Linked DNA regions of Homo sapiens: region 2 is linked to region 1. The links are contacts of gene promoters, found by promoter capture Hi-C in blood cells and fetal thymus (Javierre and others, 2016). All regions are on one chromosome and are shown on one strand. The core of a region is centred on a gene start or on the middle of the fragment in contact, and the rest is flanking DNA. Distances in the headings are between cores, read along the strand shown.

What was found. The method cuts DNA at HindIII sites, captures the fragments that hold promoters and counts their contacts. A CHiCAGO score of 5 or more calls a contact.
Region 2: a fragment that was not itself captured here is called in contact with the fragment with the promoter of CD79A in region 1 in 1 of 17 cell types (non-activated CD4 T cells); the score reaches 5.8 in non-activated CD4 T cells.

What each region holds. Positions count from the first base shown.
Region 1 is chr19:41,874,271-41,880,102 of GRCh38, forward strand. It overlaps CD79A (CD79a molecule), which reads left to right and starts at 3,009. Exons shown (of 5, transcript NM_001783.4): 1 at 3,009-3,113; 2 at 4,720-5,019; 3 at 5,265-5,383. The coding sequence starts at 3,035. RefSeq lists an enhancer at 1,674-1,743 and a silencer at 3,151-3,210. The HindIII fragment of the contact is 1,040 bases long and covers 2,445-3,484 here.
Region 2 is chr19:48,248,401-48,254,232 of GRCh38, forward strand. CARD8 (caspase recruitment domain family member 8) reads right to left here. Exons shown (of 14, transcript NM_001184900.3): 2 at 1,351-1,447; 3 at 1,123-1,233. It also overlaps the pseudogene VN1R97P. Among named protein-coding and RNA genes, the nearest start is that of CARD8-AS1, 4.4 kb to the right of the region's middle. The HindIII fragment of the contact is 206 bases long and covers 1,537-1,742 here.

The sequences.
Region 1 (5,832 bases), core at 1,759-4,258:
AGCCTGGCCAACATGGTGAAACCCTGTGTCTATGAAAAAAAAAATTGGCTGGGCATGGTGGTGCACACCTGTAATTCCAGCTACTTGGGAGGCTGAGACAGGAGAACAGCTTGAACCCAGGAGGCGGAGGCTGCAGTGAGCCAAGATTGTGCCGCCACTGCACTTCAGCCTGGGCAACAGAGCAAGACTCCATCTCAAAAAAAAAAATCTGAAATACTTCAGGCATGCAAGTATTTAGCATTCAGTATTCATAATGTAAGAAAAACCTATGAAGCACAACCCAGTTTAAGTAACACAGGCAGGGCAGGGTGCAGTGCCTATAATCCCAGCACTTCGGGAGGCCAAGCTGGGAGAATCACTTGAGGTCAGGACTTCCAGGCCAGCCTGGGCAACACAGTGAGACCCTGTCTTTACAAAAAATTTAAAAAATAGGCCCAGTGCGGTGGATCATGCCTGTAATCCCAGCACTTTGGGAGGCCGAGGCGAGTGGATCATCAGGTCAGGAGATTGAGACCATCCTGGCTAACACGGTGAAACCCCATCTCTACTAAAAAAATACAAAAAATTAGCCGGTCATGGTGGCATCTGCTTGTAGTCCCAGCTACTCAGGAGGCTGAGGCAGGAGAATCACTTGAACCCGGGAGGCGGAGGTTGCAGTGAGCCAAGATCACACCATCGCACTCCAGCCTGGGCTACACAGCGAGACTCTGTCTCAAAAGAAAAAAAAAATTAAAAATAGCCAGGCATGGTGTGTGCACCTGTAATCCCAGCTACTTGGGAAGCTGAGGCAAGAGAATCACTTGAGCCCAGGAGTTTGACGTTATGATTATGCCACTGGACACCAGCCTTGGTGACAGAGAGAGGCCCTATCTCTAAAAAAGAAAAAAAAAAAAGTGGCCAGCCACGGTGGCTCCCGCCTGTAATCCCAGCACTTTGGGAGGCTGAGGTGGGTGGATTACCTGAGGTCAGGAGTGTGAGACCAGCCTGCCCAACATGGTGAAACCTGGTCTCTACTAAAAATACAAAAATATAGCCAGGCATGGTGGTGGCCGCCTGTAATCCCAGCTACTGAGGAGGCTGAGGCAGGAGAATCACTTGAACCTGGGAGGCAGAGGTTGCAGTGAGCCAAGATCACGCCACTGCACTTCAGCCTGGGTGACAAAGCGAGACTCCGTCTCAAAAAAAAAAAAAAAAAAAGTAACACAGGAAATAAAACCAAGACAAGATGAGCTCTCTGTGTCTCTGTGTGTCCCTCCCCAGACCCAACCCTGGCGTCCCCCAGAGGTAACCCCTCCCAGGAACTGGGCGTTTGCCACTCCCCTGCACGGGTCTACACCTCTGCTACAAACGTGTGTCCCTAAGCAGCGGACGCCTTTTGAAAACAAGTCAACTGTATCATGCTACGATATTTTTTCTGATGTTTGTGCTGTTTCTGAGACAGCCTTATGACACCTTCCCCTATTCTGTAGCATTCTGTTGGCTCACTTTGCCACAGTGTATGCACCCATTCTCCCACAAATGGACTTTTCATTTGCTTCTCAATGTTTGCTACCAAAAATCTCCCTGCAATAAATTTATTTTATATATCCCCTTGTATGTGTGTGAGGGTCCCCTAACTGCTCACAAATATCTCAGCAACTCCGCCCTCCCCACTCAGACCTCATTTCCCTCCTACCAGACATGCTCAAAGGAAACTGGGAGCAACACAAAGATGACTTTGAATCTCTGTCCACCACCCCTAGACTGTATGACACCCGCAAGTGACAACCTCCCCTCTCTGGCCTCGGTTTCCCCCTCTGTAAAATGGGGGATGGCCTACCTTGCCAGTCATGGCAGGTCAATATAAAACAACTTCTGGCTGTGCACAGTGGCACATGCCTGTAATCCCAGCACTTTGGGAAGCTGAGGCAGGAGGATTGCTTGAGGCCAGGAGTTCAAGACCAGCCTGGGCAATATAGCAAGATCCCATCCCTCTTAAAAAAAAAAAAGAAGAAAAATATATGTTGTTGTTGTTATTATTGTTATTATTAGAGACAGAGTTTCGCTTTTGTCACCCAGGCTGGAGTGCAATGGTGTGATCTCAGCTCACTGCAACCTCCACCTCCTGGGTTCAACTGATTCTCCTGCCTCAGCCTCCTGAGTAGCTGGAATAATAGGCATGTGCCACAACATCTGGCTAATTTTGTATTTTTAGTAGAGATGGGGTTTCGCCATGTTGGCCAGGCTGGTCTCAAACTCGACCTCAGGTGATTCTCCTGTCTCAGCCTCCCAAAGGGCTGGGATTACAGGCATAAGCCACCATAGCTGGCCTGTTTTTTTAAAAAAAGAATTCCAGTAAAGAGCTGATCATGGTTCTCACTCCTTGAATACCAGGAACACCATCTCGTATCACATAATGAGACAGGGAGACATTCTGGTCCTCATCTCACAGATGAAAAATGTCAAGCTTCGAAGGATCAAAGTGCCCACCTAGTCACACGGGTAGTCAGCCACAGGTCAGCCTGCCTTATTTATTCTTCATGAGTATTTATAGTGACTAACATTTACTGGGCGCCTACTGTGGGCCATTTCTGTGCATGTGACAACCCCTTTAAGTCCTTGTTTCTAATCCCAAGAAGCAAGGAAATGGGGTCAGGGAAGGGACAAGGTTTGCCCAAGTCCAGGCAGGGGGAGAGGTCAAGCTCAGAACCATCACCTGCCCATGACACATGCCCAGGACTCAGGTTCCCTAGGCTTCCTTCCAAAGGCTCAGCAGTGACGAGCCAGCCCTTGAACCAGCCTCTTCCCCCACCCAAGCAGCCACCTCTCAGGGGAATTGTGGCCACCACAGGTGCAGGGAGCAGTTTCTCTCCACTCACAGCCTGAAGCATACCCGGCAGGGGCTGTCCCCAGGCCCAACAAGCAAAGGGCCCAGTAGCGAGGGCCACTGGAGCCCATCTCCGGGGGGCTGGGCAGGAAGTAGGGTGGGGTTTGGGGTAGGGATCTGGTACCCTGGGACTGCTGCAACTCAAACTAACCAACCCACTGGGAGAAGATGCCTGGGGGTCCAGGAGTCCTCCAAGCTCTGCCTGCCACCATCTTCCTCCTCTTCCTGCTGTCTGCTGTCTACCTGGGTATGTGGCCAAAGGGCAGGAACTGGCGGGAGGTGGGGGAAGCTGTGGAGGCTGCAGAGAGGGCACAGGCAGAGGGAAGGGGGCTCAGGGAAAGGGGAAGAGGAGGCAGAGGATAGGGGACCCAGGGAAGATGCCTATAGAAATCGTATCTGTGCCAAGATGGGCCAAGGTGGGGCTGGAGGGAGCCCAGCGAAGGAGAAGGGGCGTCCACAGTCTCACACAGGGAGGCAGGAGCAAGAGTCACCTCCCCCACCTCCTGTTCCCCACAGGCCAAAATAAGGAACTAAAGTTGCTCTTGACTGAGCACCAGGGCTGGGGGCAGGAAGGGGACTTAGGGGTAGCAGCATTCAGCGTCTGTCAAGGGGAGAAAAAGCTTTCTCTGCCTTAAACCTCAGGTGCCTCTCTCTGTTGGGAGTCCCTTCTCAGCACTGGGGGAATGGGTGTCTCATGGACTCCCCCTCACCTGCTCAAGGACAGCTGGCAGGGGCTGTGGCCACGCTAACCCAGGAGTTCAGAGAAAAAGGTTCCCCACCCAAGGGGACACTGGGAGCAAGGATTGGAGTTCACGTCTGAGTCTTAAGCCCGTGACGATGAGGGTGCTCGGCCCCTCTCCCCATCTCTTCCTCCTTCTCTCTTCCTCACCTCCCTCCTCCACCTACCTCCAGAAGAGGGGACTGGCCATGTGGGAGGCCTGGCTGAGAGCTGGGGCTTCCCAGAGGAGCCCGGATTGGACACTGCAGCCAGCCTGAGCCGCCTCGTCTCACTCAGAGACACCCCCAGTCTCCACCCCGCTCTGAGCCCCTTCAATCACCAGCAGCCCAGCCCAAGGACTGAACTCACCCCTGACCCCTAGGTTGACACATACAACTTACAGAGAATGAGGGCCAGGCACAGGGTCACAGGCCAGGGCAGGCCACAGACTGGCTCCTCAGCCCAGGCAGGGAGAGGCCAGGGAGCCAAGAGTTTGAACCCAGTGCCACTCCTGACTGCCTGGTGATGCTGGCAACCCGCCTGCCCTCCCAGAGCCTCAGCCATCCCTCCTGTAAAATGGGGCTAAGGAGAGAACCTACTTCTAGGGTTCTGTGAATGATTACACAAGAAAAAGCGCCAGGTGCTGGGCCTGGCTGAGGCTGGGGTGCAAAAATGGACCGGGAAGGCTGCGGGAGGAGGGGACGCCTGCACTGCTTCTGGAAGGAGCTGTCTGGACAGCGGTCCTCCAGTGCCTGGAACAAACATCCAAAATCCAGAGAGTTCACAGGGCCAGAGTACAAAGTGGGTATGCGGGAGGGGGGCAAGAGATGGCGCTGCAGAGGTGAGAAGGGCCTCCCAGGGGTCTTACCATCCCAGGGAGTCTCATTCTCCTCTCCCAGGATATCCTCACCCACCCCAACCAGGTATGTCCTCTCTCCTTCCCAGGGGCTTCTTCACTTTCCCGCATCCCCCCTCTCCCCAGGATGTATCAGCCCCTGTCAGGGGCTCTCTCTCTCCCTCCCCACCCAGGAGAGTCCTCACCCTCTTCCCAGGAGTGCTGGAACTGCAGGGGCCAGGGCTGGGGAAATGTGTCACCATCCCCAGTCCCTGACCCACCCACCCTGTCTCTCCACAGGCCCTGGGTGCCAGGCCCTGTGGATGCACAAGGTCCCAGCATCATTGATGGTGAGCCTGGGGGAAGACGCCCACTTCCAATGCCCGCACAATAGCAGCAACAACGCCAACGTCACCTGGTGGCGCGTCCTCCATGGCAACTACACGTGGCCCCCTGAGTTCTTGGGCCCGGGCGAGGACCCCAATGGTACGCTGATCATCCAGAATGTGAACAAGAGCCATGGGGGCATATACGTGTGCCGGGTCCAGGAGGGCAACGAGTCATACCAGCAGTCCTGCGGCACCTACCTCCGCGTGCGCCGTGAGTGGCCCAGCCCTGGCCCCTACTCCCACTGTCCCGCTGGGGACACTCGGTTTATCTTTGAAGTGGGGATAGAGCCAGTACCTTCAATGTGGGTTTCAAACCGGCTTGGACAGAGGGACGGACATTCTCCTCTGCAGAGTGGGGTCTCTGGGGGGTCTGGGGCCTTGCAGGAGGTGGGCGGGGCCAGGAGGCTAGGGAGGGCAAGAGGGGCCAGGGCTCTGAGCCATACTACCTCCTTGCAGAGCCGCCCCCCAGGCCCTTCCTGGACATGGGGGAGGGCACCAAGAACCGAATCATCACAGCCGAGGGGATCATCCTCCTGTTCTGCGCGGTGGTGCCTGGGACGCTGCTGCTGTTCAGGGTGAGCCCCCTCGGACCTCTGAGTCAGCCGGGCGAGGGCCTGGGCCGAGGGACCCCCAATACCCAGGTAGCCCTCTAGAGCCTGAGGTTCCCCATCCAAAACTTGGGAGAATGAAAGCACCCACCATATAGGGGCTGTGGGAGTTAAATGAATGAATATAAAGAAGGGACTTGAACTGGCGCTGAGCCCAGGGGGTGTCTTCAATTTAGTTTCCCCTTCTGGGCTGTCCTCACGTCCACCTCCCCCCAAGAAGAGTCTCATTCTTCTCCCTAAGAGTGTCCTCACTCCCCTCCTGCCCTCACCCAGGAGTGTGGTTACCCTCCAGGTGTAGCCAAGACCAGGGAAGGTGGGGCCTGGTCCTCCCAGAATCTCTGATCTGTACCAGCCTCTCCTTAGGCACTACAGAAAGTGTGACTGTTATTGTTATTATTCATGGAGAATAGTAAGGG
Region 2 (5,832 bases), core at 390-2,889, 6.4 Mb after region 1:
GACATATTGAAGAAACAAACAACAGAGAAATGAATTAATGATATAAATAAGGAATCAAAAGGATAAAACACAAATGTCCTGAAAAGATGTTAAAATTCACTAGTAATCAGGGGAATGTGCATGACAACCACTATCAGTTATCATTCTCACCCACAATACTGATGGAAATAAGAAAAGCTGACAAAATCAAGTGTGAATATGAATGTGTAGCAATGGAAACTCGTAAACCAGTAGTGGAGATGACTGAAAACACAGCCGCTTTGGAGAATAAACTGGCTGTATCTAGACTTCAAGACACACCTACCCTTGAAATTATGTGTGGACAAGAAAATGCATATAAAAAGTCCATTGTATTATGGTTTGCTATCAGAAAACAGGGTAACAAACTGAATGTCCATCATCAAAGAATGGATACATTGATTATAATATCATCATTGCATTAATACTGTAGCGCAGTTAACATAAATTATTAAAACCACATGTAAACATGGATAAATATTTAAAATGTACTATTGGGCCGGGCACGGTGGCTCACGCCTGTAATCCCAACACTTTGGGAGGCCGAGGCGGGCGGATCACCTGAGATCAGGAGTTCGAAGCCAGACTGGCAACATAGTGAAACTCCGTCTCTACTAAAAATACAAAAATTAGTCGTGCGTGGTGGCGGGCGCCTGTCACCCCAGCTACTCGGGAGGCTGAGGCAGAAGAATCGCTTGAACCCGAGAGGTGGAGGTTGCAGTGAGCCGAGATCACACCACTGGACTCCAGCCTGGATGACAGAACGAGACTCCGTCTCAAAAAAAAAAAAAAGTAATATTGATTAAAAATCAAATTGCATGAGACTGCACAGCACGATACCAAGCAAATACAAGTTTTAAATATTACAGAAAATAATATTTAAAATACAAACCAAATACATAAATCATGCAGGGGGATTAAGACGTTTCTGGATAGTGGCAACAGCCGAGAGTGGCTGGATGAATTTCAGAGAAATTTCATATATTGCTTCAATTTTATTTAAAATATATTATTACCTATGTTTTAGATATTTTATTGTAAATAATGGGCAAGGATATTATAAACTCTGCAGAAGTAAGTGTAGTCGTGTTTTTTCCTACTCACATTGAAGATGGCCCAGATGCTTGCACTAACCGCGTTTACCGCCCACAGCCATCATGGCGACCGGAAGTCCTGAGAGCTTGTTTCCCTCGAATCTCAGACAGCCCTCCTTCTCTATGAACATTATTTCAAAAGAAGTTGAGAACTAGAGAAACCGAAGCTTAAGGGGATTCTCCCATTTGGCCTGTCCTCCCCTAAAGTCACCACCTGCTGCGTTTCTGCAGCGCTTACCATGTGAGTTTCAGGAGCCCCAGGGTGCAGGAAGGAGGAGCGGAGGCTTGTTGCTTGGACACTGCCAGGCTGCTCTGTGTTCTGTTCCTCTTGGTCACTTGAGAAGAAAGGGAGAAGTTCCTATGAGGCTGTCGGAAAGGGAAATGGGGCCCTCCGCTTGTTGAAAACAAAACAAAACCCTCAGGAAGCTTTGCATCCTGTTAGTCATAGCTTAAATTTATGACTTCAATGACTTGGCTGGGACAGTCTTAATCTCTCCATACTCAAGTTGTTTTAATTTCTGTAATAATAATTTTTATACCAATGTTTGTGTTGTTAATACTAATAATTTTACATTGTAACTGTAATCCTTTAATTATTACAAGTGTTAACCTAAATAACAAACATATGAAAGCTTCCTAAAGGAAACAGTGTTTATTTGGGAATAGAGCATTGCAATTGGGAATAGATATGCCATATTAAACTATGTATATATTCAGGAAGATAAAGGAAGACAGAAATGGGGAGGATTGCATATTGTTTTGACAGGATTTTCCTTGGCCACAGGATCAGGCACAAAGGTGACATTAGTCTGAGGTTGGACAGGCAGTTGCTGGGCAGCATTCCTTGCAGAAATATTTTTTGTTTAAGGTTGCAATGACCTTTATGCAAGGTTGTGGGTTTTGTAGAGTCTTTTTCATTTTCAAGCATACAAGGATAAGACCCCCCCTCTTCATGGCTTTCCTGGCTTTATTTGTCAGGGTCATCTTAACATTAGTGGCTCCATTTTGTTCTGACAACTTTCAGATTTCTCCTTGTGATCAAGAACTTTCTCTAAAAGCATTATTGATCAATCATTCTGTAATTAAGATTTGATGTCCCCTGATGCCAGCATGGACCTCTCCCAGTTTGCTGGTCTCATCCCATGTTGTGGGGAGTGACTGGTGACTAGGAATCGATGTCAAAAGCACATTTGAGCAACAAAAGAGATTTGAAGGATGTGGCTCTCAGGCTAAGTCTCCCTGGAGTCCATTAGTAAGTTCAATTTTGTCTGTTCTACAGTCTTTTGCTATCCCTTTAAAGTGCTGATTCAGTATTATTTTGTTAGGAGCTGCACCTCTGAAAAAATTTAACAAGTAACACATACAAAGTTTAAAAAGGAGAAATACAAAGTAAGGGGAAATACAAATTAAGAGCAATATGAGATTTTCAGTTTGCATATGGTTTTGAGCCATAAACCTAGGTTTAAAGACAACTAATTGAAGAACTCAAACAGTTATTCGAGACAGCAGGGAGTTAGGTGAGACCTGGGGTAACCACATGGCCTGCTTTCTTATTTTGTGTATAGGAGCCTCAACTTTTCTCAGAGGAATTTATTCAGGTATAGCATGTCGTATTAGCAACATCACAGACAATTTCTTGCTTAACCAATGGATACTAAAGAATTTTGTAGGTTGGGTTCTGTTAAGTTATAAGCAGAAGGAATTGATCATAAAATTTAAGTTACACCATTATTCTGCTAAGTAGAAAAGGTCGAATTAAGTGAGATGAAAGTCTCATTATGATATAGAGTCTTGTTTCAGCATCTTGCAGAAAGTTATACAGTGTGAAAACACCAACTTTTTCTCCTGGTTTGTAGTGTGAACGTCTCTGGTTATGATATTGGGCAGTTTGGTAAACTATTGTGTGATCCGCATATCAGCCTTGAGGTTTGTTCCCTCTTTCATTTTCCTCTGGATCACCAACATGCTAATCTACGTTCACATCACTGAAACCGTAGAGGCCAATACCAATTTCACCATTTCTGGTCCTGGATATTTGCAAGACTGTTGTCAAACTAGGCCATACATACAATAATTTAATATACATTTGGGGCTTGGATTATATTTCTGTTAAATTGCACTGCTCTATGGGACTTATTTTATTCATTCCACAAATATATTTTGCACATGTTCCTTATTCTTGGTACTATTTAATGGATTTGGCATACATCCGTGATCTAAACAGATAAAACTCCCCCAAGGATCATTTATAAATGTCATGGTGATTCGCCATGTCCTGTTTGTGTTCCTCATGGTCTGGACCAGCATCAACATGGCCAGTCTCCTCTGCAGACACCGGCGGAGAGCCCAGCGTCTGCACAGCCCTAGCCTCTCTTCCCAGCCATCTCCTGAACACAGAGCCACCCATACCATCCTCCTGCTGCTTGGTTGCTTTGTGTGCTTTTATTGCTCAAACAACTTCATCACTCTTTATTTCTTTTATAAATCTGAGAAAAAATCAAGACTAGAGATGATCACTGGAATTATTTCATCATGCTACCCAACCATCTGCCCTTTTGTGCTAATAAAAAATAATAAAATTATTTCCTAATTTACCTCTTCCTCTCTAAGACAAGAATGATCAGCTCTCAGGGAGCATTCAATGGCTGATCTCAAACCCCATACTTTCTTCTGCAGCTGGGAAGTCTCCATGATGACTTTTGTGGAGAAAAAGTCATGCAGTTATTGAGCAATTGAATTAGGGCTAGTTTGAATTGAGGTGTATCATAAATTTAAAAAGCATTCAGGTTTTGAAGTCAATATAAATAACAGTATATAAATATTATCTTAATAACTTTCACATTGCTGACAAGTTTAAATTATGACATTTTGGGTAAAACGTATGTATATGTTTTGTTATGTTTACATATATATGCATATTTAAATAAAATACATATACACAAATATGTAAGTAAAACATATGTAAGAATATATATAATATATATAATTTTTTTTTTTTGAGACAGAGTCTTGCTCTGTCACCCAGGCTGGAGTATGCAGTGGTGTGATCTCAGCTCACTGCGGCCCCCACCTCCTGGATTCAAGCAATCCTCCCACTTCAGCCTTCCGAGTAGCTAGGATTATAGGTGTGCACCACCATGCCTGGCTAATTTTTTTGTATTTTTTAGTAGAGACAGAGTTTCCCCACGTTGGCCAGGCTGGTCTAGAACTCCTGACCTCAAGTGAACCGCCTGTGTCAGCCTCCAAAAGTGCTAGGATTGTAGGTGTGAGCCACCGCACTGGCCTTATCAGTATATACACACACACACACACACACACACACACATATGTGTATACATATACAACTACATAGGTATTTTTAAACTAACTGTATCTGCTTGTTTTTGCTTTTTTAAATGCAGTTGCTAGAAAATTTAATATACATTTGGGGCTTGGATTATATTTCTGTTAAACTGCACTGCTCTATGGCACTTCTTGTATTCATTCCACAAATACATTTTGCACATGTTCCTTATTCTTGGTACTATTTAATGGGTTGGACATACATCCATGATCTAAACAGATAAAACATAATAGCACAAGAGATTATACAGAATGTTTGTGGTACAGGAAAACGTATATGTACACATGATAGGAGCTAAAAAGAATAGGACTGGTTAAGAGAATGTGGTGTGTGAGAGTACAGGTGCAGGGAGCTGCAGTGACTGGGATTACAGGTATGCATCACCATGCCTGGCTAATTTTTGTATTTTTGTAGAGACGGGGTTTCACCAATTTGGCCAGGCTGGTCTCGAACTCCTGGCCTCACGTGATCCACCTGCCTCAGCCTCCCAAAGTGCTGTAATTACAGGTGTGAGCCACCGTGCCTGGCCAACATTTATCATTTTAAATACTCATCTGCAAAAATGTTTCCAAGTGGGGCCACTTCCCCACCCCTCATATGACAGTGGCAGTGATATACCATATACATGGTTATTAAAAAGAATCTGGAGCAACAATATGAATGTCAGACAAATTAGGCTTCAAGAGCATTTCCCTCCATCTTACAGGGGATAAACCCAAAGAAGTTATATTAAGATTCCAATAAAAGAATGCAAGATGACTATCTGTGTAAAAATGTAATCAATGGGGAGCAGGTGCACCTCCAATAATATTAGACAAAATATATTTTACCTAAACAGCATTACTAAGTATAAAGTAGATCACTTCAATAAGAATAACAATTTTAATTTTGTGTATACATATTCACACTTTCAATATGTATATAGTATACACGGGTAGAATGATAAACAGATATAGAATAATCCTCCACTCTTGTGGGAAATCTGTTCAATAGTCTTTCAGCAATTAACAGAATAACAGAGTATCAGTAAAGATATAAAAAATTGACCAAAGCAATTCATATTCTTGACTTAAGTGCCCTAGAATAACAACTCACACAGCCATTGAAGAATCCCCATCATCCTATCTCAAGCATAGAGGAAACACATAGCATACATATGTAGCCACATAGCAAACACAGAAATGACTATCAACAAAGTGGAAGAGTTTAATGCACAGATTAAGTTATCTGAATATATGTACAATGAGTTATAAATAATAAATAATTGAGCCAGGTGAAGTAGTACATGCCTGTAATCCCACCTACTTGGGAGGCTGAGGTAGGAGTTTGAGCCCAGGAGTTTGAGTCTGGTCTGGGCAGCATTGCAAGATCCCATCC